2 separate regions of the Homo sapiens genome follow, and region 2 is linked to region 1. Evidence: promoter capture Hi-C in human tissues and cell types (Jung and others, 2019). All regions are on one chromosome and are shown on one strand. Each heading gives the region's core, a stretch centred on a gene start or on the middle of the fragment in contact. The rest is flanking DNA. Distances are from core to core; before and after follow the strand shown. Region 1 holds the start of ADPRHL1 (ADP-ribosylhydrolase like 1). Region 2 overlaps SLC9D1 (solute carrier family 9 member D1).

Region 1 (6,019 bases), core at 1,665-4,164:
AATGCGAGTCACCTCCAATGGTAGGTAAGGTCATGTGGGTCACGTGTCCACTGGACAGGGGGCCCTTCCCTGCCTGGCAGCCGAGGCAGAGAGGGAGAGGAGACAGAGAGAAAGACAGCTTATGCCATTATTTCTGCATATCAGGGACTATTAGTACTGATAGTACTAATTTTTCACTAATTTACTACTGCTATCTAGAAGGCAGAGCCAGGTGTACAGGATGGAACATGAAGGCAGACTAGGAGTGTGACCACTGAAGCACAGCATCACAGGGAGACGGTTAGGCCTCCGGATAACTGCGGGCGAGCCTGACTCATGTCAGGCCCTCCACAAGAGGTGGAAGAGCAGTCTTCTCTAAACTCCCCTGGGGAAAGGGAGACCCCCCCCCCCTTCCTGGTCTGCTAAGTAGCAGGTGTTGTTCCTTGCCACCTTTTGCTACTGCTGGACCACGATCCGCCTGGTAACGGGCGTCTTCCCAGACGCTGGCGTCACAGCTAGACCAAGGAGCCATCTGGTGGCCCTGTCCGGGCATAACAGAAGGCTCGCACTCTTGTCTTCTGGTCACACCTCACTATGTCCCCTCAGCTCCTATCTCTGTATGGCCTGGTTTTTCCTAGGCTATGATTATAGAGCGAGGATTATCATAATATTGGAATAAAAAGTAATTGCTACAAACTAATGATTAATGATATTCATATATAATCATATCTAAGATCTATATCTGGTATAACTATTCTTGTTTTATTATACTGGAACAGCTCGTGTCCTCTGTCTCTTGCCTCAGTGCCTGGGTGGCTTGCCGCCCACAGTAAGCAATTCCAGGGGTGATCTTGGATGCGTATTTTCTCATGACCCACAAACTAGACGCTGCAGCAGCACAGTGAACCCTCCCTTCCAGTCCACAGCTGAGGACCCTGAGAGCTTAGAGCAAACTTACTTCCTCCTTAAGAATAGCGCCCCATGGTGGCTCACGCCTGTCATCCCAGCACTTTGGGAAGCTGAGGTGGGTGGATCACTTGAGGTCAGGAGTTCGAGACCAGCCTGGACAACGTGGTGAAACCCCGTCTCTACTAAAAATACAAAAATCAGCCGGGCGTGGTGGTGGGCACCTGTAGCCCCAGCTACTCAGGAGGCTGAGGCAGGAGAATCACTTGAACCTGGGAGGTGGAGGTTGCAGTGAGCTGAGATCACGCCACTGCACTCCAGCCTGGGCGATGGAGAAAGACTCCGTCTCAAAAAACAAACAAAAAACAGTGCCCTAAACGTCCGTAACCCTTTTAACTGTGTGAATTTCGTGTCCTGTTGGGCCGATCTCCGTCGGTGCACTTTTGGAGTGTCCTGTGCCGCTGCCCTCCCTGCGGGCCTGGCAGGACCAGACCCACAGCCATGGACGCTGCCATTTACAAAACGCCCACCAAGTGCTACCAGAAATGGGACATGCAGAGCTGGTATGAGCGCACACACGGCATCAGACGCCCAGAGGAAGCCAAACTCAAGAGTGAGCTCCAGCCGTCTACGGTGAAAACAAGCCGGAGCTGTGTCCCACAGGTGTCTGTGTGTGGGGTGCACCTGTTCTGGGCTGCGGGGCACAAGCATGGGGTTGCTGGTCCTAAGGGCACACGAGTGGCCGCCTGGAAAACCAGAAGCAGGAGCTCCTGGACGCCAAGGCTGTGAACAGTCGGACGCCTCCCCGTCTCCAGCAAGCCGGGAGCCTTATCTTATCGCCGGCGCTTCAGCTCTCCCGTTATTTAGGGACCGGCCACAGGCTCGATGGCATTCCTCTGCTGTGAGCACAGAACTAAACTGGGCACGTCCATGGCAGATGAACAGAATGGTGGAGTGAACGCATAAGTGAGATTTCATTGACTTAGCTGCAGCCCTCAGATTTTAATTCTGCCATGATAAACAGCACCCACGGGGTTTTGAAGAGCAAATGCCTCGTAGGAAAGCTGGACTGCATGTCTGTGCACCTGCCATTTCCCTGAAATTCATGCAAAAGCTTGATCCTAAAATCAATTTGCTACTTAAAGGTATTTTAAGAAGCTTTGTCTCCAATCTCGTCCAATCAAGTTTATGTCATTTTCTTAGAACACATTTGTGTATGGGCAACTCTCCAAGCTGAACCATTTTGGGAGATGATATTCTAACTTTAATTCATTGGAATTTAGAACTAATCCCCAAACAGTATTAATGGGTTCACATTTCAAACTGGCTTATTTTACATCCCTTTGTAATGAATTCAGAACAAGAAGGCTTAATCTCTGCAGCGAGAAGTGAGCCCTCACCCTACTCCCACCAGCACGGCCGAGAGAGGCTTCACTGGCTTTAACTCTATTAGAAACAGAAGGTGCTAGGCCTAGTTAACGCTTTACAAATACAAGTGAAAAGTCACGTTTAAAAACTGAATCTTAATAACTGCAAAGTAAAGTAATACTGTCACCCTCAGAGAAACCACAGGAGAAACGTGATCTGCCGCATATCAAATTTGAGGGACACTCAGATTAAATTGCCACTTTTAGCAGCGGTATCAGGTAACACCATCCGCTGAAGGACCGCACTGCCTTCAAAGCTCTCGGAGGCTTACTGGGAGAACTCGAGCAGCCAGTGTTCCCTCCAGCCCGCACACCGGAGCGCGGTGGGCCCAGCCTACCTGTGGTGAGGGCCTCGGCGGTTGCGATGTGCATGATGGTGTTGTCACTCACGGGCCATTCTCCTGGCGAGAGTACGAGGTGGTCCAGGCCCCCGGAACGTTGCAGCTCCTCCTGGATCTTCATGCCTACAGTGCTGTTCTCCTTGCAGACATTTCTGTAGCCAAGAGCATCGCCGACGCTCCCCAGCAACATCGCAGCCTTAAATTTCTCCATCCCAGGAGGCAGCTCCTCTTCCCCAACAGCTGCGGAGCGTCCTGGCCTTTGTCTCCTCCTCAGCCCGCCTGACTTTTATAGTGGTCACTGTGTCACTGTCAGGAGCGTCCTCTGATGGCCAGGCGCTCCTTGTCTATCTCTGCAGGTGGCACCAATGAGAGGACCTTTCTGTCCCCCACGTGGGAGGTGTCAGTTTTCTTCTGCGTCTGGACAGGCACCAGCTCCTCAGCAGAGGAGCCTGCTAGCTTCTGCCGGCAGCCGCAGCACATTCAGAGCGTTGACAGAGCAGGGGCTCCTCTCGCTGTCCCTGGAAGGAGTGCGCACACTTCCCCGTGTGTGGCGTGGGGTGATGCGGGAGCAGATGTGTGCAGGCGTGCCTGTCACTGCCGCCCGCTGCGGGGCGTGCCCTCACCCCTCGGGCAACAACCCATCTGCTGTCTCTACAGTTCTGCCTTTCCTGGACATTTCAAATACAATGTGTGGCCTTCGGTGTCTGGCTTCCTTCACTCAACATAATGTTGAGATTAATCTGTGACATGCGGTTTTATCATTTAGAAAACTTTTCGATTATGAAATGTGTTTTTGATAGAAAACTTTTAAAAAATGCAGTGTAGAGGGAACAAAGTCTATCTAGCTCCTGTGTGAACAATGACGGTGTCTTCTCAGCATGCGGTGTTTAACGGCTCCCAAATAATTGGACTGCACTGAGGGGGAAAGTCGTCAGCAAACCGCAGGCTTCACTAGAACCTCCCATCCGGCCCTCGGTCAGCTCAGTGTATTTACATCATCCCTGCTAGCTCATGAAAAGAATATTAAAAAATATGGAGACGGGGGGTGAGGCAGAATGCACACAGCCAGGGTTCCTGGTTTGAAATAAATTAGGAAAACAGTCCATCTCCCGACCCCACCCCAGGACAGTTCTCCGCAGAGGCCGGGAGCCCAGCAGGGCTGTGTCTCTCCCGTCTCCTTCCTCGGGGCCTGGTTTCCATCAGACCCAGGGGAAGCAAAGAGTTACACCTGGACTGAAGAAATGCGTCTGATAAAAACTCTCGTAGTGTACAGCGAGACAGTAGGAAGCATTTAACCGCCTGGCGTTATATCAGCACTTGTTAAAACGGAGGATCTCAAGCAGTGAGTTCACCTCACCCTCCACTGTCTGCTGGTGGAGGCAGCCATCAGCACAGTCATGCCAGCTAGCATGATCCTGAGATTCAGAAACAAACTTCAAAACCAGCATGCAGGCCGGGCGCGGTGGCTCATGGCTGTAATCCCAGCACTTTGGGAGGCCGAGGCGGGCGGATCCCCTGAGCTCAGGATTTTGAGGCCAGCCTGACCAATATGATGAAACCCCGTCTCTACTAAAAATACAAAAATTAGCCGGGCATGGTGGTGGGCACCTGTAATCCCAGCTACTTGGGAGGCTGAGATAGGAGGATCACTTGAACCTAGGAGGCAGAGGTTGCAGTGAGCCGAGATCACGCCATTGCACTCCAGCCTGGGCAACAAGAGCAAAACTCTGTCTCAGAAACAAACAAACAAACAAACAAAACTCCAAAACAAAAAACAGCATGCACGCAGGGTCCCTATCCAAACAAGACAGACAGGAGGGGCGGCCCTTCGTTCAAACTCTCACCTGTTTTAGGCACAACTGCACTGTGGGGCCGAAGCGTGTGCTGCTGAGGGGATTAACACAGCCCGCTCGCTGAGCGCTTCAGTTCGCAGGCGGCGGAAACCTTTGCCAAGAGCACTAGCTGGCTCCCTCAGCAAACAGGACGGGATAAGGTTAGCTCGTTTATCCAACAAATATTTGCAGAGCCCCTACTTTGTACCTGAAACTGTGGACACAGCAACAAGGATCAGAAGAAAGTTTATTCTTGGCCCCAAGAAGCCTGAGGTCTAAAATGGATATAAACTTCAAGCGAAAATAACACAATGACATGTACAATGTCACTGAGAGGAGCTGGCGTTGTTGATTCCGGAACGCTGGCAGGTGCACCGTGAATCGGCAGGTAGCACATGATCCTCAGACCCCCGTGCTTGGCCGTTTGCCTCCGATAAGGGACGGTTTCCAGCAGTTTGTGCTGGCACACATGACCTCCTGCCCCGACACACTCCCGTAAATCCTGCCTATTGTGAGATCTCTCATTCCTCACATGAGCCACCCCATCAGGTGCACGGTGCACCGCTGAGAGGCAACGCAATGACAGAAGGTACCTGAGGACCTGGTTACCTGGCCAGGGCTGGCGGGCCACACACGGGGGCAGGGGCTTGCCCGCTGGTTGCTAGCTGGGGGCTGTTCTCTCATCCTGGGACAATGACGTGGATGCTGACACCTATAGGCAGACATCCCTGCAGCTGAGGAGAATCGAAAGGAAACCACGCCCGAGAAAAACCAATTTAATGCTTCTGTTCTCAGCATTTCACAGCATGCAGGACTCAAATGGATACAACAGAAGAAAAAAACCCACAATTTTTGGAAAAGCCTTTGTCCAATGATTAATATTTTGATATCTATTGACAATCCCTTAGAACTTTAAATCTCAAAAACAAAAAAGTACTGTGGATCTCCATAGTTTATACAGAATTATGTGAATTCTATAAACTTTTCTGAACAAAACAATTACATGTCAAGAATCCATGAAGCCTGGAAGATACGCTCACGTTTTTGAGGTTTGTATTAATGCCAGTTTTTATTGTATTAGACAAATGCTCTCTGAGAATCGAAGACTTCTAAAGGTAGACAGGCCCAGTTTCCCATTAGAGTTCTGGAAGCAGAGCCTGGGGAAGGTCTGTCACTTGCCCATCACTGGACCAGCCAGAAGCCAGCGGGGGCCAGGCGGGGTCTGCAGGCTGCAGGTCCCTTCCAGTCCTGTCCCTGCTGCCCTCTGTGACCATCTCTGCTAAGAAACATCGACAGTTCGTCCTGCAGCCTCCAAGCACACTAACCTCAGCCATCAGATGTTCCTGAAGCCCAGGGTAAGTCCTGTTCTCAGAAGCCAACCCAGCTGCTTGTCTGGGCCATGCTCTCTCACACCGCAGCTAGGTCATCTGCGGCGACTCTCCTCTGTGCTGGGCAGCAGCTCCAGCTGGTCCACGTCCTGCACAGTGCTGCAGGGGGGCAGCAAGGCACGCCTGTGACATGAGAGTCTCGGCAC
Region 2 (6,019 bases), core at 1,260-3,759, 63 kb after region 1:
AGGATAAAGTCACAAATGGAGTGAATTCATGCTCACAGAGTTCATAAAAAGACTCCATTCATAAAGATGTCACTTCTCCCCAAATTTATAAACTCATAGCTGTTCCAATAAAAAAAATCTGGCAGGAGTTTTCATGAAACTGAAGAAACTGATCCTAAAATTCAGTGGGTACCAAAAAGCTAAGAATAGGCAACATTAATTTGAGGTGAGGAGTCCCCCGCCAGCTCTCAAGACTGAGGATGTCCCGGTGGATAGCAGCACCACAGGCTGAGATGGAGCCGGGGGGTCGGGGCCCACAGCCCAGACGCTGCAGAGAAGCTGGGGAGATCGACTTACCAGGAGTGGGAATTAGCTATCCAACGTAAGAAAATGAAATTAGCTTGACTTTAGAACTACGAGAAGGAAATAGAAAATATCCTTATAACCTTAGGGTAGAATTCCTTAAAATATAAAATGCAGAATTCAAAAGAGAAAATACTGATACATATGACACATTTGACTTTGTAACCTTCTTTTTCATACTAACCTCACTATGGGGACAACTGTAACTTTTATTGAAAGGCATTTTTTTTTAATAAGCCACAGGCCAGAGGAAGACATTTCCTATAGTTATTTATTGTTTGTTTAGAGCAAAGGATTAATATTCAGAATGTATCAAGAACGTCTGTAAATCCAAACCAAAAAGTAACCTAATGGGAAAATAGGCAGAATATCTGAGCAAATAACTTACGGGAGAAGAAACCTAAATGATGAACAAAAAGGAAGACATGAGCCTCGCTAGTATTCGGGGTGCAGGCTGATGGGACTGAGATCGACGCCATCCACACAAGCCTGCTGCCAAGCTTTGTTTTAGACCGAGTCTTGCAACAGGAAGACATGAGCCTCGCTAGTATTTGGGGTGCAGGCTGATGGGACTGAGATCGACGCCATCCACACAAGCCTGCTGCCAAGCTTTGTTTTAGACCGAGTCTTGCAACAGGAAGACATGAGCCTCGCTAGTATTCGGGGTGCAGGCTGATGGGACTGAGATCGACGCCATCCACACGAGCTTGCTGCCAAGCTTTGTTTTAGACCGAGTCTTGCTGTCACCCAGGCTGGAGTGCAGTGGCTTGATCTTGGCTCACTGCAGCCCCAACCTCCTGGGCTCAAGTGATCCTCCCATCTCAGCATCCTGAGTAGCTGGGATGACAGGCGTGTGCCACCATGCCTGGCTAAGTTTTTAGTCTTTTTGTAGAGATGGAGGTCTTGCTATGTTACCCAGGCTGGTTTTGAACCCTGGCCTCGAGCAGTCCTCCTGCCTCGGCCTCCCAAAGCGTTGGGATTGCAGGCATGAGCCACCGCACCTGGCCCTGGCAGACATTTTTAACCTGATCTACCATTGGCAAGAATGTGGAGTTGCAAGATCTAAGCATTCTCCATGGGAATGTAAATTGGTTCAGCCACTTTGGAGAACAATTTTGCAATCAGAAAATTCCATTTCTATATACATATCCTAGAAAATTCTTGCAAATTATTATAATTCAAAACAGCATTATTTTTAGTAGCAAAAAATTAATCAACTGAATATTCAGTAACATGCTGGACAGTTAAGATGTATTCATACATTGGAATGCTGCAGAAGCAAATGTGAATTCTGTAGCATGGAGGGAAAGATAGAAGATGTGGAATGCAACATGTTTTATGTGTTTAAAGTCTGAACTTTACATACATGCAAACTTTTACACTAAAAGCAACAAGAAGTGTTTGAGAATGACAGATGTGGCCGGGTGGCTGTGCCAGAGATGGGGAGGCATGCCATCAGAGAGAGACGCAGGGCAGTCGGCTGCTTGTGACATTTCTTCCAGAAGCTCAGTGATGGCTCTGGTTGTTCATGACATGCTTTGTACCTTTTTTCTTGATCCAAAGTATTTTATAATAATTGTTTTTAAAAACAAGGTAAGTGGCTGGGCACGGTGGCTCACGCTGGTAATCCCAGCACTTTGGGAGGCCGAGGCGGGCGGATCACGAGGTCAGGAGATCGAGACCATCCTGGCTAACATGGTGAAACCCCGTCTCTACTAAAAATACAAAAAATTAGCCGGGCATGGTGGCGGGCGCCTGTAGTCCCAGCCACTCAAGAGGCTGAGGCAGAAGAATGGCGTGAACCCGGGAGACAGAGTTTGCAGTGAGCCGAGATCGTGCCACTGCACTCCAGCCTGGTTGACAGAGCGAGACTCCGTCCCAAAAAAAAAAAAAAAAAAAAAAAAGAAATGCAGCTGACTTGTGTGTGTTTATTTTGTGCCCTGCAACTTTGTGAACTGGTTTATTGTAATAGATTTTTGTGTGTGGAATCTTTAGGATTTTCTACATATGAGATAATCTCATCTGCTTACAGGATCATTAAATTCATTCTTCCCAATTTGGACACCAGCCTTGTGTCTTAGAGATGCACATTGAAAGGTATGGTTAAGAGGATGACTGGGGTTTCCCTTAGGAGGGTAGAGTGGAGGTTAGTGTATGAAACAAGGTTAGTCTGCCTGATCATGGAAACTGGATTATTTGTTCCTTGAGATGCACTGTATTTTTCTTTCTACTTTTGCATATGCTTGAAATTTTATTAGAAATTCCTATATATGTCCAGGCATGGTGGCTCATGCCTGTAATCCCAGCACTTTGGGAGGCCAAGGCAGGTGGATCACATCAGGTCAGGAGTTCAAGACCGTCCTGGCCAACATGGCAAAACCTCATCTCTACTGAAAATATAAAAATTAGCCGGGCATGGTGGCACACGCCTGTAATCCCCAGCTACTCGGGAGGCTGAGGCACAAGAATTGCTTGAACCCTGGAGGCGGAGCTTCCAGTGAGCTGAGTTCACACCACTGCACTCCAGCCTGGGCCACAGAGTGAGACTCCATCTCAAAAAAAAAAAAAAGAAAAGAAAAGAAAAGAAATTTGTATATAGCCCAAACTTAAGACTGTCTCACCAGAGCTTAAAGGTGTTAGCTCTGGCCACAGCAGCGGCCTCAGTCACTCTTCTTACATGGATTTTGATGCAAATTCTGCTCCTTTTCTATTTCTCAAGATTTCTAGCCCCTTCGAGGGGCCCAACCCTCGAAGGAGTCCAGTAAATGTGTAACTCCACTCTGCCTTGCCTGTGCTGAAAACACATAGAAAGAGGAACAGAGGAGGCAGGCACCTGGAGGTCAGAATGGCAGCTGGATTGTGAAGAAGGTGTGGTTTGCATGCCTGGCAGTGATGAGCTTCTTAGGCTTCATTCTTAACCTCGGAGCAAGACTCATTGTCCAGCCACAAGCAGCGTTGGCCTCCAGAGGCCTCCGTGGGCAGGGCCTGCCCTGTGAAACTCAGGTCTGCAAGAGAACCTTGAGACCAGGTGCCGTGGGCTGGCTGGTTCACAAAGGAAGACGGGCTCTATCCATTTCCAGGAAGAGCGCCCTTGTCTCCCTGGGAGTAATGTATGTGGGACCAGGCAAGAGGCCAGGAGTGGTGAGGAAACATTCCCTTCTTGTGAAAATGCAAGCGAGGGGAAAGGAGGTTTCCCCCACAATGTGCTAGAATATTCATGCAGCCTTTGTTGTTGTTGTTGAGGAGGAGTCTCGCTCTGTCGCCCAGGCTGGAGTGCAACGGCACAATTTCAGCTCACTGCAAGTTCCACCTCCCGGGTTCACGCCATTCTCCTGCCTCAGCCTCCCGAGTAGCTGGGACTACAGGCGCCCGCCACCACGCCCGGCTAATTCTATTTTTAGTAGAGACGGGGTTTCACCGTGTTAGCCAGGATGGTCTCGATCTCCTGACCTCGTGATCCGCCCGCCTTGGCCTCCCAAAGTGCTGGGATTACATGCAGCCATTTTTGTATTAGTGAATAAATGGAATTCCTGAACGTCCACCAAGAGATGAATGGATAAACTGTGGTCTGTTCTACAACAGTTTTAAAAATGAATCAGAGCTTTGTGCATCAACATGGATAATTTGCAGATATAGTGGTGGTCAAAAACGGCAAGTCGCAGAAATGTTGATTCTGTGAAGTTTAATATTACAAAATAATAAACTCAGTGTTGCCTCCAGATCTATAGGTGTTAACATTAAGTAGAAATGCATTCAAGGGGATGATGAACTTTCAGAATAAGGTCAAGTGGGGACTGTGGGTGGAGGGAAGAGGGGCCCCACAGCACGGGGTTTACAGACCTCCTTGTGGGGAGTGTGGGTGGAGGGAAGAGGGGCCCCACAGCAAGGGGTTTACAGAGCTCCTTGGCGGCACCCTTAGGACTTTATTTCTTTAAAAATCTGAAGCAAATATGTTACAGGTTTAAAATTTAGCAAATTCCTTAGTGGGTATGTGAGCATTTGATATACTCCTTGTTCTCTGTATATTTAAACTGTTTAATAAAAGGAATGGAAAACAGGAAGAAATCAAAATGCTTATAGTAGTGATAAGCACAAAAAGGTAGTGCAGATTTCAGAAAGATGACAATAGTGAAAGTGTTGAGAAATTAGAGAAATTGTAATATTTCAGTGTGGTAATATTTTCATCTTGTCTGGTTGCACTGCTGAAGTTTTGTGCCCGTCACTACTCCGAGCACTTGTCTTCCTCCTGCAGCCCCGTGAAGTCCCTCGTGAGCAGTGTTTCCTGCGCAGGCCCTGTGGGTGTGGACTCGGGGTCCTGCATCAGGGACCTTGGTGAAGACCTGGTCTCTGCTCTGTGGTGCCCATGGCCTAGCGGGCAACAGTTGAGTGTCTGTTGATTTCAGCCAGTTCACTATGATCGGTGCAAAGGAAGAGAACAAAATATTTAAAACATTTACAAAATGCTGGCAGTAATATCATCAAAGGCTATCTCTAAAAAGTGAGATGTAGTGAGAGATTTTGTTTCTTTTAAATAGAAGGGGCGCAGGTGTGAACGTGTTATCTGCGGAAGATGTGGGGTGGCCGTGGCTCCTTTGCATCCCACAGACTCATCTCGCAGCCTCCCTCCCGTCTTGCGAAGGCTGCGAGATGAAGAGAGATGCGGTGACCACAAGCCCATGCGAGCCTTAGGGTGAAAATCGCTGATCTGTGAAGCCTCCGCATGGACAATATTAGTTGGGAGGCAATTTTATCATCTCCTGAATCGTGTAACCCTAAAAGGCACAAAGCTGTAGCCACAACAGCTTAACGTCATCGTCTGTTCAGACTGTTTTAAAATTCTAAGCCAAGATATTTTGTTCACCAAAAATTTAATTTTGTACAATAAGTCAATCAAGCCTTCTAAAACAATTACCTGAATCTCTATCCAGAAAGAGATTTTTGCTGGCATCAAGGGGTTTTGTGTGGTTCTGCTGTTTTTTTAAAATAAGCCTTTTCTATCAGATTGGTCTTTTAAAATCTGTTGATAACAGTAGCTTTTTTTTTTTTTTTTGAGACGGAGTCTCGCTCTTGTCCCCCAGGCTGGAGTGCAGTGGCGTGATCTCAGCTCACTGTAACCTCCGCCTCCTGGGTTCAAGTGATTCTCCTGCCTCAGCCTCCCAAGTAGCTGGGACTGCAGGTGCCCGCCACCATGCCCAGCTAATTTTTTGTATTTTTTAGAACAGATGGGGTTTCACCATGTTGGTCAGGCTGGTCTCGAACTCCTGACCTCAGGTGATCTACCCACCTCAGCCTCCCAAAGTGCTGGGATTACAGGCGTGAGCCACCGCGCCCAGCCGCTTTTTTTTTTTTTTTGTAAGAAAAAGTACCTTGTTCGGGGTGGGGTTGGGGGAATGACAATTTAATTTTTAGAAGCATATTTACAGAGTTCATAGCTGGAACTGTACATTGAAAATTGAGACCTTTGGAGGCTTGTGCAAGTTACTGAATTTGTGAAGAAGGTCTCATTTTCCTTTCTTCTTTCCAGAGTTGTTCCTTAGTCTCTTCAGCTAGTCATGGCTACTACTGTTCTGCCCTCGTGAGCCGGTGTTTGTCTGCCGGGCCCGCCTTGGTCACACAGTGAAGGCTCATTCCGTGTGGTGGCTTGGGTGCGTCTGCACCATTTGGACACCAAGTCTGT

What was found. The method cuts DNA at HindIII sites, captures the fragments that hold promoters and counts their contacts. A contact is called where the count stands out against the background at its distance.
Region 2: a fragment that was not itself captured here is called in contact with the fragment with the promoter of ADPRHL1 in region 1 in 3 of the 25 tissues and cell types used here (H1 embryonic stem cells, bladder and mesenchymal stem cells).

Annotation. Positions count from the first base shown.
Region 1 is chr13:113,450,574-113,456,592 of GRCh38, forward strand. It overlaps ADPRHL1 (ADP-ribosylhydrolase like 1), which reads right to left and starts at 2,915. Exons shown (of 8, transcript NM_001394807.1): 1 at 2,651-2,915. The coding sequence starts at 2,864. DCUN1D2 (defective in cullin neddylation 1 domain containing 2) reads right to left here. Exons shown (of 7, transcript NM_001014283.2): 7 at 5,246-6,019. RefSeq lists enhancers at 947-1,448, 5,445-6,019. The HindIII fragment of the contact is 9,965 bases long and covers 1-6,019 here.
Region 2 is chr13:113,513,669-113,519,687 of GRCh38, forward strand. The region is part of intron 7 of SLC9D1 (solute carrier family 9 member D1); the gene reads left to right. Among named protein-coding and RNA genes, the nearest start is that of SLC9D1, 26 kb to the left of the region's middle. The HindIII fragment of the contact is 4,216 bases long and covers 402-4,617 here.